Regions from separate parts of the Homo sapiens genome. Here regions 2, 3 and 4 are each linked to region 1. The links are contacts of gene promoters, found by promoter capture Hi-C in human tissues and cell types (Jung and others, 2019). All regions are on one chromosome and are shown on one strand. Each heading gives the region's core, a stretch centred on a gene start or on the middle of the fragment in contact. The rest is flanking DNA. Distances are from core to core; before and after follow the strand shown. Region 1 holds the start of IRX1 (iroquois homeobox 1). Region 2 has its middle 270 kb from the start of LINC02114. Region 3 has its middle 14 kb from the start of IRX2. Region 4 has its middle 93 kb from the start of LINC02063.

The links. Contacts are between HindIII fragments. The study calls those that stand out against the background at their distance.
Region 2: a fragment that was not itself captured here is called in contact with the fragment with the promoter of IRX1 in region 1 in 1 of the 25 tissues and cell types used here (lymphoblastoid cells).
Region 3: a fragment that was not itself captured here is called in contact with the fragment with the promoter of IRX1 in region 1 in 1 of the 25 tissues and cell types used here (dorsolateral prefrontal cortex).
Region 4: a contact is called between a fragment that was not itself captured here and the fragment with the promoter of IRX1 in region 1, in 2 of the 25 tissues and cell types used here (dorsolateral prefrontal cortex and mesendoderm cells).

What each region holds. Positions count from the first base shown.
Region 1 is chr5:3,594,441-3,597,281 of GRCh38, forward strand. IRX1 (iroquois homeobox 1) reads left to right here and starts at 1,392. Exons shown (of 4, transcript NM_024337.4): 1 at 1,392-1,941. The coding sequence starts at 1,666. RefSeq lists a silencer at 1,095-1,389. The HindIII fragment of the contact is 23,247 bases long and covers 1-2,841 here.
Region 2 is chr5:4,505,602-4,508,442 of GRCh38, forward strand. No RefSeq gene overlaps it. Among named protein-coding and RNA genes, the nearest start is that of LINC02114, 270 kb to the right of the region's middle. The HindIII fragment of the contact is 3,147 bases long and covers 1-2,841 here.
Region 3 is chr5:2,736,116-2,738,956 of GRCh38, forward strand. It overlaps a transcript of IRX2 not described here. Among named protein-coding and RNA genes, the nearest start is that of IRX2, 14 kb to the right of the region's middle. The HindIII fragment of the contact is 5,452 bases long and covers 1-2,841 here.
Region 4 is chr5:4,226,830-4,229,670 of GRCh38, forward strand. No RefSeq gene overlaps it. Among named protein-coding and RNA genes, the nearest start is that of LINC02063, 93 kb to the left of the region's middle. The HindIII fragment of the contact is 4,440 bases long and covers 1-2,841 here.

The DNA.
Region 1 (2,841 bases), core at 142-2,641:
CAGAACAGCATGCCGACTCTGGCCCGATGGCCGCCTTCATCCCGTAGCCCCAACCCGGCCTAAAGCCGAGAAGACGCCAGAGTGCGCTGCTGAAATTCCCGCGGAGTCCGGTGTGCTGGAGAGCCGCAGCGGGGTGAACTCCCGGCCCCGTCTCTGCGTAGGAGGTGGTTCGCAAAGTGGCCCCGGGAGCCGGGACTGGTACCCGGTTCCCCACGGCACCGTCCGGAGCTCTCCAGCCACGAGGCGCAGAAGTGGCCTGCCAGCGCCTTCCCAGGCTCAGGGAGGCGAGGAGGCCCGTGCACTTGGCATCTTCTCCCGGGAGCCGCACGGCCAGGGCCGCGGCGAAACGGAGCCCATCTCAAGTGCGCCGCGCCTGGCCGCGTCCTGTAGCCCGACGAGGCTGAGGATGGAGAGGGGAGACGCAGGGAGAAGAGGGACGCGGGACTTGGACCCAAGAGGCCGCTCCGTTGCCGGTCTGGCGGCGGCGCCGACTCGGGTTCGCGCGTTCCACACAAGTTTCCTGTCTGCCTCTGCACACCTGGTGGACAAACCGGGCGTCCAGGCCACACCGTCTTCCCCCTTCGCGGGGGCGCGGGGGATGTTTCCCTCCGGCTGCCAGGGGGCTTTCTGGGTGAAGAGAAAGCCCCTCCCCCCGCGTCTCCCCCACCCCTCCCTCCGAGAACCCGCGGCGCCGACTGCGCCTGCTTCCCCCGAGCTGGCGACTTCTCCGCGGGATTTGCCCTCGCTCAAAGTTTGCACAATTGAAAGAGCCCGCAGAGCTCGGCCGCTCCCCGCTTCCCCAAGGGCGGCGAGGCCGGTCATTGGCAGACGATCGGTTACTACCCAGTAGGGGCCCACGGGAACCCGCATCTGGAGTCGGGGGTGTCACGCCACGCCGGTTCAGTGGCTCGCGGAGAGCGTCCGGGTGCACTTCTGCCAAAGATGTCCCCTGGAGGCCCCGGCCGCGCGGGACTCGGGGGAGAGGCCGCTCCCCCCTCGCTGTCACCAGCGTCCAGGCCGCCGGCCCCTTCCCCGCTGCCCAAACAGTAGAAAAGCAGGCGCCAAGTTGTTTTTGTTAAAAAGGGGACACACCTCGGCCGCGAAACTGCAAACCCGGTGTCAGACAGCTGTAAACCCGTGTCGACAGGTTGTCAGACAGCTGCGGGGGCTGGTCGGGAAGGAGCCCACGGCCTCCGGGCCCACACCCCGCCGCCCCGACGCGCGCGCCCACCGCGAGAGTAGCTGGCCGGGCCGGCACGGGGCACCACGTGCTCGCGGGAGGGGCGGGAGCGGCCGGCGAGGGCGGGCGGGAGGCAGGGAGGGGGCGGGAGGGGAGCCAGGGGCGGGGCCTGCGCTCAAGGGGATGCCAATCAAAGCATCAACTTCAAATTGTGTCTGAAAGCCCCGCCGCCGAGCGGAGGGCGGCCGCCGCAGTCGGCGCGCGATTGCGGATCCGGGCGCAGCCGGGAGCCGGGCGCCTGCGAGCACCGGGCAGAGGAGCCGCGACCGGCCTCCATCTCCCGGCCCGCCCGAGCGCGCCCGGCCGGCCGCCCGCTCCTCCCTAGACCCCTCGCGGCGCCCCCTGCAACCCCCTCCGGCCGGCCTCCGCCTCCCTCCCCGCGCCTTTAATACTCGCCCGCTGCGGCGGTCGCCGAGTCCGCGGACATGTCCTTCCCGCAGCTGGGCTACCCGCAGTACCTGAGCGCCGCGGGGCCGGGCGCCTACGGCGGCGAGCGCCCGGGGGTGCTGGCCGCGGCCGCTGCGGCGGCTGCCGCCGCCTCGTCGGGCCGACCGGGGGCCGCGGAGCTGGGCGGCGGGGCAGGCGCGGCTGCAGTCACCTCGGTGCTGGGCATGTACGCGGCGGCGGGGCCGTACGCGGGCGCGCCCAACTACAGCGCCTTCCTGCCCTACGCCGCGGATCTCAGCCTCTTCTCGCAGATGGTGAGTGCGCCCGGCCTCCCCCGCTTCTCCTCTGTCTCACCCGCGCCAGGGCAAGGGTGGCGGGTCGCCCGGGAGGGAGAGACTACGGGTGGACCTGGTCCGGAAGAGGAACTAGAAAGGTCCGGGGGCAGGTTCCCGGTGGCCGAGGCCGCGGCCCCCGGGGACGCAAGAGGGCTGGGAGGCCGGGCGGGTGACGGCTGGGCCATCTCGGCCTGGGAAAGCGGAAGGCCCGGGCCAGGGAGCGGGTAGCGAGTGAATTCAGAGAGGCCGCAGAAGCAGGCCCGTGGAGCGGTGCCCGCGCTGGAGGTCGGGGGCAAACTCGCCTGGCTCGGCCAGGGCGCCCGGGCAGGCCCACGGGGTTCCTGCAGGTCGGCCCGGCGTAGCGTAGCAGGACTTCCCTTCCTGGCCGCGGGTTCCACTCGCGCGGCCTCTTTAGTTTTCGAACCGAGTCTGGAAAACTTGGTTTTCTCCCTCTTTAGCAGCTCCGAGATAGTTGTATCCGAGTTTGCCAGACAGACCCCTTCTAAGCCTGGTAGAGTCAATCAAAATAATCTTAACAATAGAGGTCCAAAGGGATGGAGAGGTCTCTCCACGGCGTGAGTGCGAATTTGAGATTAAACAAAAATTAAGTTGCAGTAATGTGCTGGTGTCTGAAACGGTGTTTGATTTTACTTTTGTAAGTTGCCCAAGTTTTCATTTCATTTGCACAGAAAGAAAAGCACTTTTCTTCCTGCGTTACATAATGGAGGATTAAAGAAAACAGTGTCCCTTGGCTTAAAACAAATGGTGTCCTCTTAGTCTCCCGTCCCAGTGGGCGTTAGATGTCGGGGCAGGCGGCTGCACACTTAATTCTCCGCGGGGGCATTGGCCTGTCTGCCGGTCCAAATCATCCATTTTCCT
Region 2 (2,841 bases), core at 107-2,606, 910 kb after region 1:
TGACATTTAAGAAAGCTTGTATTTCTGTTGTTGTTGTAGTGATTATTTATAATTGTAACCTTATATGGTACCTTTCATCCTTTCATTACTTAGGCAGTTTCTAATAGTCCCCCTCTTAAAGCAGTGATAAAGTTACCATTTTCCTTTCTCTTCATTGTCCTCTATCAGCATCAATTTTAGTCAATAATGTTACCTATTTCGGCATTATCATTATTGCGTTAAATATCTTTATGATATTCTTAAAGTGTATACTATGCATCACATTATATCATTTTCTCTTTTCTTGCAATCTTTGCTAGTAGCCTCCTTGTGAAACCTCTCATTCTGTTCAGCCTCCCTGATTAGTGATTGTAGTCTTTGCTTCATACTTTCTAGGTTGACCGATGATTTTTGAAGATATAATTTCCATAATCATTTCTTGATTGGCTGAAATTTCTTATCTGGTAGTTTATGTAAGCATTCAGAAAAAAAAGTCTTAGTTTTTGTGTGTGAAACACAATAATTTTGTCAAGATAGATCTCAATTTTTAGGTCAATTTTTCCTGGCCTCAAAAGGTGCACTTTGAAAACATAATTTTAAATCTCATTTCACAAAAAATGTTTTTTTAGATGGCAGATATACAGGAGGTCATCTCTTTCTCTGTGGCAGAATAAGGGAAAGACTTCAGATTTTGTAAAGTCTGGGAAGTCCCTTCTTCCAGCAAGGAAAATTTGCTTTCGTTTCATTGTTTTATCTTGTAATTTTGGAGACTTCAGTTATGGATATATTGGATCTCCATATAAAATTTACAATTGGCTATTGCTTTCAACAAAAATGTCTGCAGGGATTTGGTTAGAATTGTTTCAAATTTGTAATTTGGGGAAATTGACATCTTTACAAAATTCAGATTTCCAATTCATAAATACTCTGTTTTTCATTTAGTCTTTCTTTGACTTTTCTGTCCAAAGTTTATAATTTTCATCATACAAATCTTAAACAAATTTTCTTAGATCTAGACATAAATATTTCAAGTTTTTTTGGTGTTATTACAAGTTGTATATGTTTTAAATTACTATCTAATTGTGGATTGCTAATGTACAAAAATACAATTAATTTTTGTATATTGACTTTTGAAGCAGCAATATTGTTGAACTCATGTATTATATCAGGGAGTGCTTTTTTGTGCATGCTTTGAACATCTGACACCAATAACCATATAGTCTACGTACAGACAATTTTCTTTCTTTCTTTCAATATTCTATAATTCTCATGGTTTTTCTTTTCTAGTTTCATTGTACTAGAGTTCCTTCACTATGATATTGTGGTAAGCAGAGTAATGCTCCAACCCGCAGAAAGAAAAAGATGTTCACACCCTCATCCCCAGAACTTGTAAATATGTGAGTGGTAAAAGTGACTTTGCTGGAGTGTTTAGGAATATGGACAATAGGATTATCCTCGAGACAATAAGATTATCCTGAATTATCCACATGGACCTAATTTAATCACATGAGTTCTTACAAATGAGGAGTCCTTTCAGGTAGGATGACACAAGTGAGAAGGATGAACAAAGAGAAGAGATCCAGCAGGTGAGGGGGAGTTGGCTCACCATGGATAGCTTTGAGCATGGAGAAAGAAGGATCGGAACCCCTGAGTGTGGGAATGGCCCACCGTGCACAGCCAGTGAGAAAACGGGAGCTGGCTCCTGACCTGAATTCTGCCAAGTAATGGAATGAGCAACAAATGCATTATCTCCTATGACTTTCAGTGAGAAACACAGCCTGGTGACACTTCGATTGCAGCTCAGTAAGAAGTATGTCAAGCTTCAGACCCACAGACATATAAAATAATAAATATAGGTTGTTTCAAGCCACTAAGTTTGTGGTAATTTTTTTGCAGTAGCAATAGAAAATTAATTCAGATATTGAATAGGAGTGGTGGGAGAGAACATCTTTGCTTTATTCTCAATCTTAGGGGTCTTTCTGCATTAATATGCAGTCTTTCACCATTAATATGGTATTAACTGTGTTTTTTTTTTTTTTTTTGGAGGTGACCCTTGTGAGGTCAAGTTAGTGTTCTTTTCCAGATAGTTTCCTGAGTTTTTATCAAGAATGACTGGATTTTGTCCATTTTTCTCTGCCTCCATGGAAGTGATTATATAGGTGTTCTCCTCTAACATCTTGACATACAAAATTACATTGGTTGATTTACAAATGTTGAAAATATGACTCATACTCAATTATGACATTATCATTTTTATCTATTGCTTGATTTTATTTGCTTTTATTATGTTAAATATTTTTGTGACCATATTTATGAGGGTTATTAGACTATATTTTTCTTTTCTTGTAATACTTTCATTTAGTTTTAATACAAGTATAATATTGGACTCATAAAATAACTTGAGAAGTTTTCTCTATCTTGTATTTTCTGGAAGAGGTTCTATAGAATTGATATTATGTCTCCATGAAATGTTTGATAGAATTTTCCAGTAAAGATATGTGGGTCCAGAGTTTTATTTGTGATGATATTTTAAAATAAGTTTAATTTCTTTAATAGAATTGTACTATTCTGGGAATTTATTTCTTCTTGAATGAGCTTTGCTAGTTTGCATCATTCACAAAATTTATGCCATCACTTCTTTTGCTTATCTTTACAAACATTTTCTTATTATCGTTTTTATGTCTGCAGAATCTCTAGTGATGTCACTTCTCACACTTCTAATATTAATAATTTGTCTTTTTTTCCTGATCAGTCTGGTTAAAAGTTAATGAATTTCATTGACCTTTCAAAAGTAATCTGCTTTGATTCCATTGAATGTTTTCTGCTTTATTTTGTTTTCAATTCTATTGATTTCTGCTGCTA
Region 3 (2,841 bases), core at 142-2,641, 860 kb before region 1:
CAACATCCCAGTCTTCCCCCAAGCCCCTGTGTCACACCTTGGCATTTACTCTTCCCAACAGCCCTCGGGTAGGTGATGTGTGCAGGTGGGAGGATGAGGTTCAGCAGGGATGCCTGCAGCCTTGCCCTCCACTGGGCCCTGGTGAAGCACTCCAGCCCTGAGTTCACACCTGGGATCTCCCAAATGTATGCCCTTCCCACTACCCTGGCCCCTTCTGATGCGATTTCTGAGACCTCTTTCATCTCAGGGATTAAATTTTTAGAATTAAAACAATTCAGCTTCATAATGAAACTTTTTAATGAAAACTTTTTATGGATAAGTTATAGTGTGCATTGTGTCTTTAAATTTTAATAGAAAGCTTTGAATATGCTAGAAGAAAAATTTTTTTGGAAAATCACAAATAATTTAGTTATTTTTATTTCTTACATTTGATTTGCTATCAATTTTTGATGAAGATATATTTAAATGTATGCTTTGAGAAGGATCACTTTTTAATTTTTGAACCACTATTGTCAAAACACAAATTATGTGAAAATCTTGATTGCTACAGGATATGGAGTGATTCTATTTTTTTAAAGGCAAAATATTTCATAGGATAAATATGTACTTTATGAATTATTCTGTCTGTATTTTTTTGCAAATCCTAACATTGCTACCCCCTCAGAATAGAATGCCAGACGTACATAAGAATCATTAAATCTGGTCCTCTTTTGATATGTTGATGACTTCCATGCAAATCATGCTTTGCACATATTTTGTGATTTCTCTCATTTGAAAACGTATTTTCCAAGGCAGGAGGATAAGCATGTTGTGTATAAGCACATTGTATCTAGCAGCTGATTTACAAGTGGTCAGTGTTCAGACACACAGGGCCTCATTTGTCCTCTTGTCCTGGTCCCCACTGCGGCCATCTCCGGTGGATAGATGGACAGCATGCGGTGGTGGTCTGTGGAAGTGGGCCGACCACAGCCATGCCAGAACCAGCCTGACCCATGGCCTGCTCATGCCTGTGGAACCCCAAAACCTGACACAGAAGTAGCTCCGTTCATTCACGAGAGGCCTCAGGTGTGGCTCCTGGTCACTTTAACATCCACGTGGGTAGCAAGTGACAAGTAAATACAGAAAAATACCTGCATTATTGAGCAGCCATTCTCCAGCTGAGTTAGAAGAATCTTCCAGGCAGACGGATCAGTCTGTTCAGGTCAGCTGAGAAAGGAAAGAGCTCAGTGTTCAGAGGTTCAGAGAAGTGACAGGACTGGCGAGGACAGAGGGCGGAGACAGGCAGACCCTGGACATGTTTCTGTGCCCGCTGGCCTTCCTTGGCTTCATCTAACTAACAAGAAGCCCTCTGCAGAGCCTGCTACGTGGGGCCCGGTGGCACATGGAAGAGATGGGCTTTCAGGGGCAGTCATTTGGCCCACTCAGATGAGCCCCACTAGCAGGTCTCGAGTGCTGTCCTCTCCACCAAGATCACAGGAGTCGATGGTGAGCACCCACTTCCCCAGCCCCATCTCCTGCCTGTCCTGTAGGGCAACTGTCCAAAGACAGGGCTGTGGACCATGCCTGGGTGTTCACCCATCGTACTCCATCTCATGTCTACCCGTAGTAGTCATTACCTGCCCTCAAACATTCCGCCTGAGGCTGCCAGTTCTTGTAGGAAGTGGCCCCGGTGCCAGGCCAACAGCTTTCCTAGGCTTCAGAACACCGAGATGATTTCGGGCCATCACTGATCTTCACCCACCAGAGAAGTTTTTCACCAGGGGCTTTTCCTGACGTCAAAGTAACAGCCAGGTTAAGGGAACCCCTGGCCTGGGGGTGTCCCCCTGCCCACCCCCTGCAGCCCACAGCCCACCTGTCCTGCCTGCTGACAGGTCTCCTCCCACTCCTCCCGGCCTTGTTTGCACTGGAAAGTTGGGGTGCATCGGCTGTGCACCTGAATGTGTTATTTGCTTCTGCTTAAAGATCATAAAGTCAGTAAATTGTTTAAAATATAACTCATTTGAGGGTCTAGCTCCTGCAAAGTCTGTTTGTCTTCTTTCAAAGCATGCCTTAACTCAGCCCCTTCCTTTATAAAACAGTCCAGCTCCATAGAAATTTTAAACAAACTGTCTCTCTCCTCTGGGCTTGGACTCAGCCCCCTCCCGGTCACAGGCCTGCCTGGAAGAAGCAGGTTGGGCCCTCTCAGCCGCTTCTGTTTATATCTGGGCCCATTATCATGAAGGGCACTTTTATTTGAGGAGTTGAGTATTACATTAGCATTATAAAACAAATTGTTTTTCCATTGCTTGAGAGCCAGGGAGAATAAACCTGGACGGGCCATGGCCTCCTATTTAAATAAACTAACGTCATCCTGGGTACCAAGGAGCCTGATTCGCCCCCCTGTTCCCCGCTTGGGCCGAGTTGTCCTCCCGGCCGCCTCTTTGGTCCCCTGGCCTCTGGGGCTCAGTGGGCTGTTCCCAGGGAAGCCTTCACCCTCTCTCCACCAGGGCTGTACAGTGACCCCGAGTCCAATGGCAGAAAGGATGGGGCTCATCACAGGGCCCAGGACCCCAAAGGTTACAAAGCACCCACCCCTCCCCATCTGACCCTCACCACCCCCAGCCGCACGCTTGGGCCTCCCTCCTCCTGTGCCTCCGGGACCGTCTCCCCACCTGCGGGAGGCCAGGTGTGTGGCTCCAGAGACCCTCCACCTGAACTACCCGCTCCCAGAGCCCCAGTCAGGGCCGCCAGAGGTCGCGGAGGGTGAAGCCAATGGGCCTGGACGCCGAGGCCGGGGAGAGGAAGGAGCGAGGTAATGGCTGTGGCTGGAGACCCTCTTCTGACTCCCCAGGCTGCCGGGTA
Region 4 (2,841 bases), core at 134-2,633, 630 kb after region 1:
CACCCTAATGGACATACTTGCTCAACTGCAGGGGAGAGGAAAGAGTCATCTTCCTAAGAAAGACATTCCAGGTAAACAAAACACCCTAGGTCCATTCGTGGACTTCCACCCAGTGGAGTAGGTGGGCAGAGGTGGCGGCTCTCAGTGCTGGAGCCCGTTGCTCATTCTATAGAAACCCTTCGCCTCCCAGGAATGAAGGTCTAGAGGTTGTGCAGAGTTAATATGCAGAAAACTGTAAGGAATCAGAACTTTACAGCATCAAAGGACTTTGAGATCACAAACAGCCTCCAGAAATACACTTTATTTTTGTTTTCTGTTCTGTATTTTTATATCAAATGTCAGATGATTGATGAAATAACATTTAATCACATGCACATTGGAGACACGGCTAAAGCTTTCAGTCTTGCCTCCAGCTGAGACCTGCCTGCCTCTGAGTCCTGATTTCAGTAACCTCCAGCTCAGTGTCTTTCCCTGAACATCACTGTCTCCTACTCTAGAAAGAGTGAGAAAAAGTGGTAATGGGACCTTCTCCCCATGCAGATTATAGCCTTTAAGAACACAGACACTTATAAAATTTGAGCAGAAAATGCATTTCTTCATCTGTCTTGGCACAAGGACAACCACCGCTGGTCTCAGGTTATGTACGTTTCTACATGCAGACTCAGTCTCTGAGCTTAGGTAGAAACCTAGCGGAACTCAGTAAAAACTCAAGAATACCCTTAATGTATTTCTCACCAGCAACTACGTCTATTTGTCTTTCATGTTCCTATTTCACCAAGCCATGAGGGATCTGCCCCCATCCCCCAGAGTCTCCAGCCAGGCCCCACCACCAACACTGGGGATTACATCTCAGCATGAGATTTGGAGGGACATCCAAACTATATCAGGAAGTAAAGTCATTTGCTGAAGAGCATATAGCTCAGAAGTCCTCCTAGCTTAAAATTCAAGCCCTTAACCCCAGGTTACCCCACTTTATAGAGGAGCTGATCTCTGATGCACAGCTAAAATGCATGTCCCCTCGGACGAGACATTTGACTAAAAAGTCTTTATGACTACAGTGCCTGGCCCGGGGGCTTGTGTCCTAGAAATAACAAACCAGTGAGTGAGAACCATCCTGGATGCCTGGTTGCGTATGAACCCATGGGCTCTCTGTGGTTTCCGGTCTTCCTGGGAGACAGGTGAATAACGACCACCTGCATCCCTTTCCACAGAGACAGGGGCAGAATCTGAGCTGGAGTTCCCCAGTCTGGAGTCCCGTGCTCCTGACTTCAGAACTCACTCTAGGCTGGGCGCGGTGGCTCACGCCTGTAATCCCAGCACTTTGGGAGGCCAAGGCTGGTGGATCACAAGGTCAGGAGATCGAGACCATCCTGGCTAACACAGTGAAACCCCGTCTCTACTAAAAATACAAAAAAAATAGCCAGGCGTGGTGGCGGGCGCCTGTAGTCCCAGCTACTCAGGAGGCTGAGGCAGGAGAATGGCGTGAACCTGGGAGGTGGAGCTTGCAGTGAGCCAAGTTTGCGCCACTGCACTCCAGCCTGGGTGACGGAGACTCCATCTCAAAAAAAAAAAAAAAAAAAGAACTCACTCTAATGCTCCAAGCAGCATGTAACTCTTGACCTTTCACGGTTTGGGGAGGATAAGCTCATGACAGAGGGCACTGATCATGGTGTCCAGCAAGTGGTGAGAATTCAGCAGATGTCAGACACTATTCCTCACCACTAACAAGATCATGACGGCATGTGTGTGCTGAAGACTCTCTCTGCAGCCACCACACTTAAAGAAAATTCATTGAGAGAGTACCAACATGGAGCATATTTTAAACATCTAAAATATTAAGATAATGTACGTATTAAACTCAAATTAATGGTATGCAAAGCACTTTGATATCACTTTCAAATAAAGAATTAAAAGCATGGTACCAACATTACCAGAAGTCTAAATCCCCTGGCCTCCTAAGCCAAATACACGTGCCTAAGTTAGTTATCTCTTGGAAATGAGCTCAATGGAGTGGCTCTGCTATGGTCAAACTGTGCGGAACAGAATGACTGGCATTAAGTGCACCTTCAGAAGAAGTGGGCCGTTACTGCATTCTCACATGACCTAGTTAGTCCTGGTGAAAAGCCACTTATGAGGCAAAGCGAGTGGACATGAAGTGAGGATCTGCAATGGTTGTTGTAACAGAAGGGAGCAGGACAGAGTCCGGAAAGCTAGAAACACTGTCACCCAGGACGTGTGCCCCCTGAATCAGCTGTGCCCTGGGACAGGAAGAAGCAGGCTGCACAGGGTCATCAGAAAAGCTCTCGGCACAAGGCCAGACATGGGTGGCAGGGAACCTGGGTTCCTTGAGTGGACAAGACTGTGAAAGGGGATGGGTGGCCACACACCAGGACCAGCCATGGTCACAGCAGCAGCCTCTTGTCCTTTCTCAAGGCTACAATTCCCAGGTCACTTCTCTCTGGATGCTGTCATCAGGAACAGGAACCTGGGAGCCCGGGTGGCTGGGATGGGCATGTAGGGACCAAAGAGGAGAAAATCAACCATTGGCACCTCCTACTCAGTGACTCCTGGTACAGAGGGCGCAGGACACGGAAGGAAGTGCTCTCCACTGGCCTGTCCCTGGACACACTCAGGTCCCTCTGTTGGTGAAGATGCCTTGCTAGAGGGCAGACTCATCTGCATTCCTTAGGGGAGGTGACAATGTGATCCCACTTGTCCACTTGGGAGGTCTGTTTCCACTGCTTCCTCGCACCCCCCGCCAACCCTGCCCTTCCTCTGCTCCCCCACCTCCTTCTGCTCTGACCTCCCCACTCTGTCCCTTAGAGCCTTCTCTGGGAAGTG